2 separate regions of the Homo sapiens genome follow, and region 2 is linked to region 1. The links are contacts of gene promoters, found by promoter capture Hi-C in blood cells and fetal thymus (Javierre and others, 2016). All regions are on one chromosome and are shown on one strand. The core of a region is centred on a gene start or on the middle of the fragment in contact, and the rest is flanking DNA. Distances in the headings are between cores, read along the strand shown.

Region 1 (5,382 bases), core at 803-3,302:
AGAACCAGAGTTCAATTGACCAGGCTGACCCAATCCCTTTATTATTATTACCATTAGCCTCTGCTGATTTAACCAAAATTAGCTTCCAAGCAGCCCTGGCTGAAGGGGGAATTAATTAACAGGCATTAGTTGTGGTTGTTATTAATAGAGAAGAGAATGAAATAAAAACGTTGGAGGGGGTTGGCTGGCTAGGCCCTGGCTTTATTTAGTCTGATTGTTACAGCAATAATAATGATGACGATGATGATGATAGTAATAATAATAAAACAATAATTTAACTAGATGCCTGGGGCCGAAATTCCTGCCGCTCCCCTTGCAATAAACCCCAAACCATCGCGGGACGGAGGCCAGGCGAGTGTGGAAAGCGAAGGAGCCAGAGACGCGATAGGAAAGAATGGAGACTCCGCCGGTGGTGCAGACAGGGCTGGGAAGGTTTGTGCACCCGGGTAGTCCCTGGCTGCTGCTGCCAGGCTGCCTCAGCCGGTCGCTGCTGCCGCGGCGACTGGCGACAAGCTACCAGCCACCTACGATGGCCCAAGGAGGCGAAGAAGAGCAAGCGATCAGGACACCAAAACGGTTATCGGAGGCAGGTTCCCAGCACACCAGCCGGCCGAGGGCCGAGCCCCGCGGGCGGCAGCAAGTTTTGGGAGCTGGAGGTAACCGAATTAAAAGGCGCCTTAGAAACTCCGCTTCGGGACTTTGCTCAGCAGGGCTCCGGGTTGGAGGGCGCCGAGGCCTGGCGGACGGGACAGTGGGAAGAGAGAAAGGTGCTAAGGGGACCCAAGATCTGGGATCCAGAACAAGAGGGGGTGGGGAACAACTCTACCAAGCCAAACAGATCTATTTCCCTTGCCTCCATGTTGGAAAAATTCAGGTTCCATATGGCTCCTCGGGAGGGAGGGAGGGAGACGGTGGCTGCCGGCTTCCCCCCAGGGTCTCGCTGGAGAAGGGAGATGAGCCCCCCGCAAGAACCCCACCTTGCCAAGCACACCCCAGGGAGAGCCAGGAGAGTAACAATAGCTGGGGAAGCCCCGAGAGAGGGGATAGGCCATCTTCCAGGACTTAAAAAAATTAATGGGAGAAAGAAAAATAACAAGAAAGGAAGACAGAGAAAGGTTGAGACTTTCTTAGCAGCCGCGGAGAAAATTCAGCCCTGGATCTGGCTGCTGAAAGAAAAGAGAGAGAGGAGAAAAGAGGAGAGAAGCAGGAAGAGAGAGGGGAGAGAGAGAGGGAGAGAGAGAGAGAGAGAGAGAGAGAGAGGGAGGGAGGGAGGGAGGGAGGGAGGGAGAGAGAGAGTCGCTGCGTGGAAGGAAGCTTAAAGCTTGTGAACTCTTCTTGAACCGAGATTGGAGTCATATGGGCCATAAATCATTGAGACATACTCTCCGCCATTCACAAACTGATAGCCTATTTCAGTCCAGCTTACCTTAGCCACCGACGAGGGGAGAACAGGCAGACATAATATATATTCACATCGAGCCCCAGAGCGAGCGGCAGGCGACAAATCTCCCCTCCTTGAAGGCAAAGGAAAAAAAGACCACTGTTTAAAGCTGCGTCGCCCCCCGCCCCCCCGCCCCCGCCCCGCAAAGCCACCCCGGCTGGGGAGCCCGAGGGGCAGACCGGCCAGAGGAGCCGCGCGGCGTCCGCTTCAATTCACTCGGCTTAGGAGCAGGGGTGCGCAGGAGGGAGGGGGTGGGGGAGCGGGAAAAAAAATAGAAGACCGAAAGGTGCCGGGCGGCTCAGCTCGCCAGAATCCAGCTCCGGGCTCCAGCAGGGCTAAGCCGCCACAGTGTGGTTGCCCTATAAGACTGGTACGCCCTACTCTCCGTAACAATGGCCTCTGCTTTTGCACAGGGAAAAAAAACCACACAGACACACACACACACTCACTCACACACAAGCTCACACCCCCCCACCTCTCCCCCTTTAGCAAGCTTAGATGCCTGATAAGGAGGGAAGGTGATGGTGGTGATGGGGAAGGGGGGAAATTTTAAAATACCCGCCTCCCCAAAAAAAGAGTAAGAAGAAAAGAAGGAGGGTTTTTTTTTTTTCCTTAAAGAACAGGTAAAAATTTAAATCTAGATTGGAGGGACAGGGAGGAAGAGGTGAGCAAAGGCAAGGAAGGGCGGTGAAGTTCACAGCTCCCCCCATACCCCACTAGTGAACTATTATGCTAATATGAGAAGTAGTATTTGGAGGCTGAGTCAAAGGCAGGCCTGGCCCGGGGGTGAGGGTGCCGGGTGCCCCTCTGCACTCATTCGCAATTGGAACACCAGGACTTTTTTAGAAAGTAGTTCTGGGTCTCCAACCCTCACACTCTGGCTCCCTCCTTCTGAGTCTCCAGCCCCGGCTTCTTCCCTCCACTACACCCTCTCTATTCCTCCCAAATCTCCCTCCAGTCTCCAGGCCCAGTCTCTAACCAAGGGAGAGGGAAAGACCAGAACTTAAAAAAAAAAAAAAAAAAAAAACACCCCTCCCCCTTTTTCTTTTTGAGAACAGACAACAAGCGGTGAGTGATGATTTTAAAAACTCTGAACATCTTGCAGGGGGAGGAGGGTTGAGAAAAGGGTGACAAAAGGAGGACTCTGTGTTTTAGTTTGAGCTCCAGACTGGCTGGCAGTAGACGGGCTGAAAGAACTTCATGGATAAGTTTCTGTTATGATTCTCACCTCCGAATAGGCAGAAGGGGCTAAGAGGTGATAAGGACATTTGTACTTCTAAGAAGAGAAGAACTAGCAGGGTCGCTTAATTTTAAATGCACTGGCAGAAGAGATGGAAGATGGTTATTATTATTATTCAGAACAACCCTGTTTGTTTCTCTCTGCCCTGCAAGATTTATGACTCTTGGCACAAGTGAGGAAGGCCACAAAAGCTAAAGTTTTCTTAGGGTGTGTTTGAGCAGGGCAGGAAAAGGCAAGGAGGAGGCCTGTAGGAGGAAGACAGGAGCCAAAAATGTAGGTGTCTGCAGATTTGGGACAGGGGGTGGGGAATAGTCATTCCGGGAGGAAGGAAAAGACAAAAAGAGCACCAGGACATTTCCCAAAGCAGGAGTGTTTGCAACTCTGCCTAACTGCTGACTCGGAGCTAGGGGATGAAATAGAAAGCTGACTCTTTTCTCTAAAGGCAGCTTGGAAAACTGGTCCTCTTAACTTCATGTAAGGCACTACCCTGTGATTTCCTGGTTAGAATACTTGGCTTTTGCCTTCTCCCATCTGGATGCACCAGAAGAGGGAACGGGACTGGGGACAACAAAGGTGAGAGTTGATTTCCAGCTTTTGTGTTCCCTCCAGCATAGGTTGGAGGTGTCTGGCAAAGCTTCCCTCATTCCCTCTCTCTCCCCACTCACAGGCTCTACTTTGGGATGAGATAGGGAGTGGCCCCTGGCCTCCAGCCCCTACTTCTTCCAGGCAAGGCTAAGTCAGGCCAGGTGATTTGGAGCAGCCGGTTTCCAGGGGCCCTGATAAACTGGGGGTACCTATGGCCTTCCTGCCCTCCAGCAACAGAAGCCACTTGCAGAGCCTCAGAATGTAATGTCCTGAGGACCCCACCTCCCACCTAGAAAGTTGACAGCTGGGGGGAAGCACGGGTTGGGGGACATGGGGATGGAGGGTGGGAGCTATTTTTCTGTGTTTATTAGCTATTATTCTGTGTTTATTAGTATTTTTCTGTGTTTATTAGTAGTATCAAGAAAATAAAACATCCAAGTCAGACCTAGACTTGGGGCTCAAGCCAGCCTGGAACCCCAAAGAGACCTGTTAGGGGTGCCTGAGCATGTGGCTGCAAAAAGTCTGTCCTGAGATCTCTACACTCTGGTTAGAGACCTACAGGGTCAGACCCCATGTAACTTTGAGCTTGGTGGGTCAGGGACTCAGGCCAGGGAGGCTTCCAGAGGCTTAAAGAAACCAGTACCTTTGGGGTTTTTTTTTCTATCACTCCCCCAAATAAAAAAAAAGCCAAGAATGTACCTCAAAACCTCTGCTGTCCTAGCTGTTACTATCATTGGGTTAGAGAAGGTCATTGTAAAACTGAGAGAAGAGGAGAACCTGATCGCTTTTGGGACTGCGCAGCTTTGCCTCTAGGAATAACACGAGAGTCCAGAAGGCACCCAGGCAGCCTCGGGCCGGCTGCAGGAGAAGCGGGCCTGGAGCTGAGCTGGGAGTGGAGGAGTGTTCCAGAGACAACAGCAGACCCCTCCCTTCCCCAAGCCTCCTCAACTCTTTGTGGTCCCTCGGGCTACAGAAGGCAGTGGGGCATAGTGGGGTGGGAGTGAAAAAGAGGACCGAGAAGCAAGAAAATGAACCTGGAGAAAATCTCAGAGGACATATACCCCCAAATGCGGTAGGAGATGGAGTGGGGGCTTCTTAATTCTGGAGTACAGAGCCCATTTGGAATACTTGGGAGGCAATTAGATCCCAGTTTAGTTTCTGTCTTGCCTTTTTTCTTCCATTCTCAGAGGTCTCTGGCGAGCAGGCGGGCTGCCCTCTGATTAGGGCTGGGAGGCTGGAGGACGGAGGGTGGAACAGGCACCCCTAAGGGCCCCTGTTTGGACTGAGGTGTTGCTGCTAGCCAGGGGATTTTCAAACTTCAGGGGATAAAGGCTGGTAGTGAGGAGTTTGAGCAGGGAACTTGGGGTGGGGGACGCCAGAGCAGGCTGAGGGAAGACTTTGGGGTCTGGGAAAAGAGAAGCAGGAGAAGGGCTTATCATCCCTGAGAGTGAAGCCATGATTTCGGAACAGACTGGAGATACAGAAGAGGGAACAATTTCTTCTTGGATTTGGGAGGGAAACCTGGAAAACTGTGTGTGTGTGCCCATGTGTGTAGGGTGTGTGTGTGTGTGAGAGAGAGAGAGAGAGAAAGGAGGAGAAAGAGAAATTGAAAAAGAGGAAAATTGAGTAAGAGACAGAGACACTAGCATAAACTAATGAAGTAAAAAAATAATAAGGGTAAAGATTAGAGAAAATGCCCTTCTTCACAGACATCTTTTCCTCTTCCATTCCGTTTCTTCAGAGCCAGAGCACTCGCTCTGGCACTTCTCTCCCCCACCCCACTGGGTACCCAGTATCAGGCGACGGGAGCACTTTAAACCCTCTGGAACAATCAAGGGCTACCCGCCCTTCTAGACCTCGGCGGCGGGATCGTGCCTGTTTCTCTCCTCCCCCAAAAATGCATCAACTAGCAAACAAAAATTCTCTCAATAAGGGCATACTGGTTGGCTCTTTTAAAACCAATTTCTGATCTCAGACTTGGGGCAGTCAAGGATCCTGCCCCTGGCTCAATCCACACAAAATTTGCCTGGCCCAAAGGCTAGCTTGGGAGCTAGGACCTGTAAGCCTGGGGCGAGATGTTTGGCGATGTGTTTCTTCCTGGCCCTGTCTGGGTTCC
Region 2 (5,382 bases), core at 1,016-3,515, 200 kb before region 1:
TTGAAAAATATATAATGCCACATAAATGTAGCAATTTTATTACTATTGGTTCATCTTGCTTTCTTGTCCCATCTTTCCTTTCTCCCAAACAGCAAGTTGTAGTAGGCCTTAGCACTTATTTACAATCCTGATACATTTTGGGGTCTACTATGCCCCAATTGGTAAGCCAACATTACTTAAGAAACTTCTTGAGAGAAACTACAAGGCTAGTTGGATTCCAATATCTTCCATTAAAGAAGAATGAGATGGCCGGGTGCAGTGGCTCATGCCTATAATTGCAGCACTTTGGGAGGCCGAGGCAGGTGAATCACCTGAGGTCAGGAGTTCAAGATCAGCCTGGCCAACATGGCAAAACCCCATTTCTACTAAAAATACAAAAATTAGCTGGGCGTGGTGGCAGGTGCCTGTAATCCCAGCTACTTGGGAGGCTGAGGCAGAGAGAATTGCTTAAAACCCAGGAGGCAGAGGTTGCAGTGAGCCGAGATCGCGCCATTGCACTCCAGCCTGGGTGACAGAGCAAGACTCTGTCTCAAAAAAAAAAAAAAAGAAAAGAAAAGAAGAAAGAAGAAGAGGAAGAAGAAGAAGAAGAAGAAGAGGAAGAAAAAGAAGAAGAAGAAGAAGACATGTTGTACAGGCTACAGGTAGATATAAGAAATGTTTTTCAAAAGTCCAAGGAGTAAAAATAAAATAATACATAGTAAAGAATGGATTATGGGTAAGATTAGCAGGCCTAAACATGTGAGCCAGCTTTTAACATACTGAAGAAAGGGTAAGTTTTCTTTGTGATAACATAAACCTCCAATACCACTAAAGCTGTAATGGCAAATGGTGACAAGATTCAACCTCCCCATGCCACATCCCACTCCAAACAGGGATTCTCATTCACATATTTGACAACATGTATGTAACATCATTATCAACAGCCAAAACCTCTCACTGTCAAGAATTCAGTTCAATATTTGGTTCCTTGGAAAAAAAGTTTCACATGAAAAAGTATCTCTTTATTTAAAAAAATTACTTTTTAATTGAGGCATCACTAACACAAGTAAAGTGCATAAATCTTAAGGGTAAGTGGTATCACTTTTTAAGTTTAGGAAAATACATTTTAGAGATTAATCATGATCAATAACTTTTCCAGGATGGCAAATGTGTGTTAAATTCACATCAGCTGACAAGGACCGATAGGGTTCACAAGATTGGTTCTTCCACTACTTGCCTCACAAGAGTCAGCAGAAACTGGAATCTTTATTTTATATGTCATATAAATCCCCTTGCCTATAACTTAGCAGTCCCTTTCCTGTGCTAGTGATACTTAGCCATCTTCATAAACAAGTTTCTGAGAGAAGCATGTGTTGATGAGAAGCCAAATGAAAAATAAATGCTTTCTAATAGAATTGGGTCCACCTATTACATTATTTAGCCTCAAAATATCAAGCAAATTCATTGGGTTTCAGGTCTGAAGTCTTAACCTACTTACTCACAAAAAAGTTTTAAGCAAAAAAAACAAAAAAGCTTGTATTCAAATGGACTACACTTTTCTCTCAATATTTTGTGTTTAGAACATGAAAGTTTGTTAGAGGCACAAGTCTTGATGAACACTAATTCTTATGTAAAAATTCTATGCTCAGAAACTGTACTCCTCACCTGATTTTCTGTGTTAGTCCAGGAATAATACCTTCTAAGAGAAATCATTTATAAGTTGTTTTTTTCCTCAACCAAAGTCCCCTGGGCTAATCAAACAAACTTAAAGCAGTCATTAATTTTCAGTGACTTGATTTTCCTTGACATCTATGTGAAGACGAAAATCTGAAGTTCTGTGAACTTCTAAAAAGACTAAGATGGGGTAAGAAAAGATATCATTATCAGTCACCATGAGTATTATACAATACTAATTTAAAATTGTTATTATTTTTGTTTTGTTTTTGTTTTGAGACAGGGTCTCACTCAGTCACCCAGGCCAGAGTGCAGTGGTGCAATTGCAGCTCCCTGCAGCCTTGACCTCTCAGGCTCAAGTGATCCTCCCACCCCAACCTCCAAAGTAGCTGGGACCACAGGTGCACACCCCCATGCTTGGCTAATTTTTGTATCTTCTATAAAGATGGGGTCTCTCTGTATTGCCCAGGCTGGTCTGGAACTCCCAGGCTCAAGCAATCAGCCTCCCTCGGCTTCCCAAAGGGCTGAGATTACAGATGTGACCCACCATGACTGGCCATATAATTTATTTTTAAATTCACTTTTTCACTTGAGGCCAGGAGTACGAGACCAGCCTGGCCAACATGGCAAAACCCCATCTCTACTAAAAATACAAAAATTAGCCGGGCATGGTGGCACATGCCTGTAATCTCAACTACTTGGGTGGCTGAGGCATAAGAATTGGTTGAACCTATTGGTGGGGGTTGCAGTAAACTGAGATCGTGCCACTGCACTCCAGCCTGGGTGACAGAGCGAGACTCTGTCTAAAAAAAAAAAAAAATTCACTTTTAAGTGATAAGTAAACTCAACACACCTATATATACCAACGTTCTCAAACATTAAACAACAGAGAATGCTGCTGTTTTATACCATCATCAGGGCCTTTCCCATTAATTAACATTTCAAAATAAATAGGCCAGGAGCAGTGGCTCATGCCTATAATCCCAGCACTTTGGGAGACTGAGGTGGGCAAATCTCTTGAGCCCAAAATTTCGATACCAGCCTGGTAACATGGTGAGACCTTATGTCTACAAAAAATACAAAAATTAGCTGCGCATGGTGGCTCATGCCTGTAGTCCCAGCTACTGGGGAGGCCAAAGTGAGAGGATCACTTGATCTTGGGAGATGGAAGCTGCAGTGAGTGAGTCGAGATCAAGCCACTGCACTCCAGCCTAGGTGACAGAGCGAGATTCTGTCTCAAAAACTAAAATAAATAAATAAATAAATAGATAGATAGATAGATGAAAACTTGAGTGGGTAAGAAACTGCTAATCATGATTCTACTGAAAAATAGATTACTACCATGCTGTTTTTTTGTTTGTTTTGGAAAGCTTCTTTATTAAATAAAAAAAGTTAAGTATGCCCAGAGCAAAACCTTCAAATGTTACAGGAAGGCATATAATGAAAGTTCATCTATCCTCTCTTCTCTTGATCCTTCTCTCCAGAGACAACCATTGTGAGATTTCTTGGGTGTTCTATGAATTTTTGTATCTAATATAACAAGGGTCTCTGTGTGTGTGGCATATGTATTTTTTTCCTCTTTTTAAACAAATGGTAACATTTGTTCTGTTCTGTATCCAGCTTTTCTTCCTAACCATTTATCTTGACAACTGCTCCATATCAGCAATATAGATTTATCTCATTTTTTATTTTAACCAGTTTTTAACATTAAAAAATAATACATGCACATGGTGAAAATTCAAATAGTACCAAAGAATATTCTCTCTTTCATTCATATCAGTATCCCCCTCAACAGTGATTACCACTGTTAATAGATACATATGTATCCTTCCAAAAATATTCTATATACAAATAAAAACACGTGTGCTTGTGCCACACACACACACAGAAACAAACTATACACACTAGTTTGCTCAAATTACCCTTTTCATCTAACAATACTCCTTGGAGAACCTTCCATATTACGTATTACATACATATTACATATATATGTATCATTTTCTTTTAACTCTATATAGCATTCCATTAAATGGGTGTATGTTTATTTAACTAGTCCCCAATTGCTGGGCATTTAGGCTGTCTGTTTGCTATTCCAAACAATGCTATCATGAACATCCTTGTACATAATACATTGTATAGGGAATACAGAAGGCAGCATTACCTGATTCCAATGATTTCTTTTACCTGCATAAAATTTAGTTCTTTTTTTATATCTTAATATCATCTACTACAGAATAGGAAGGACTTTTAGAAAGGACATAAAAATCTTGGGAAATGTTAACTTTAGAAAGGAAAAAAGTGAGTCTTTTTGTTAAAAAAAAAATCTTTTGGCCGGGTGCAGTGGCTCACGCCTATAATCCCAGCACTTTGGGAGGCTGAGGCGGATGGATCATGAGGTCAGGAGATCGAGACCATCCTGGCTAATACGGTGAAACCCTGTCTTTACTAAAAATACAAAAAATTAGCCGGGCGTGGTGGCGGGCGCCTGTAGTCCCAGCTGCTCGGGAGGCTGAGGCAGGAGAATTGCTTGAACCCAGGAGGCAGAGCTTGCAGTGAGCCAAGATCGTGCCACTGCACTCCAGCCTGGGTGACAGAGCGAGACTCTGTCTCAGAAAAAAAGAAAAAAGAAGAATCTTTGATAGTCATTGCAAAACAATTGCTGCATTAATTTTGAAATGCATTATTCTGCCCTTTTAAAAATGCATTATTCCACTAAAAAAACCACCCTACCAGTAGATGTATAGGAAGTAAATTATTTGAAAAGGTATCAAAATTAGTAATTAACTTCAAAAACAGTTTGTGTGTGTGTCCACTTGCTACAGATTAATTTGTATAAAATGTAGCAAATAAGAAAAAGGGGGAAAATGCCTGAAGGAAGTCAAGCCACAAAAGCAGCTGTCAAGACTGTTGATGTTAAAAGGTTGAGTCAAAGCCAAAGGCAGGAGTATTCAGCCTGGGTTCATTTCCCCCTTATTAAATCCCCAAAAGACATGAAAAACATGCTGGAATATTTCTTTTTTTAAAAAGTAGTATAGGTTGAGATAGTCTAGGTTCAAAACCAGTGCTTGTGTTTATAAAATATCAGCATTCCAGGAATAGTGGTGGAAAGATACTTAACAATAAATTATAAATATTGTAAATTTAGACTTTTTCTTACATTTGCAAACACGTCATAAATTTGGGCTGTGTTTCTTTGTATAAATCCTACTTATGACTGTGCTAAAACCTTTTGGCATGAATGCAAAGAGTATTTTCATAAATAAAATTTAGTAAAATCACTGTACACTCCATTAATTCAAAAACACTTCTCTTCAACTTCAAAGGAAATTTCCTTCCTCTTTTTTTTAAAGTGTAAAGATGGTGTTTCTTTGCTGCTTTAATGTTTTGCTTCTTGTAGTTGTCATAACTACATGCTCCAAGTATGTGACCATAAGGGACAAGAAGTTAAGCAACATTTGTTCTTCCATTCAACATGTCTCAGACACCATATAGCAAAAAGCTTGTAAATCTAGCCTCTGAAGTGGCTACCACCAATAAAAATGCTCTCTATAAATACAAACCTTACAAATATATACATGGTGAGTTTCATGGCCCTACACCAGTGTTCAGCTATAATGAATGAATGAATTTTATGAAAAGATACATGAAAATTTTATTATCAAGGTTTTATACATGTATGTACTTGCCTCGCCCTACTTTGAGACATAATATTTGTTACCACTTTAGTAA

The links. The method cuts DNA at HindIII sites, captures the fragments that hold promoters and counts their contacts. A CHiCAGO score of 5 or more calls a contact.
Region 2: a fragment that was not itself captured here is called in contact with the fragment with the promoter of HOXB-AS2 in region 1 in 15 of 17 cell types (naive B cells, naive CD4 T cells, total CD8 T cells and 12 more); the score reaches 10.5 in naive B cells.

What each region holds. Positions count from the first base shown.
Region 1 is chr17:48,554,105-48,559,486 of GRCh38, forward strand. HOXB-AS2 (HOXB cluster antisense RNA 2) reads left to right here and starts at 2,053. Exons shown (of 2, transcript NR_046610.1): 1 at 2,053-3,254. HOXB3 (homeobox B3) reads right to left here. Exons shown (of 5, transcript NM_001384749.1): 3 at 1,427-1,514. The HindIII fragment of the contact is 1,381 bases long and covers 1,933-3,313 here.
Region 2 is chr17:48,353,367-48,358,748 of GRCh38, forward strand. All of the region lies in intron 3 of SKAP1 (src kinase associated phosphoprotein 1), which reads right to left. Among named protein-coding and RNA genes, the nearest start is that of SKAP1-AS2, 62 kb to the left of the region's middle. The HindIII fragment of the contact is 1,511 bases long and covers 1,511-3,021 here.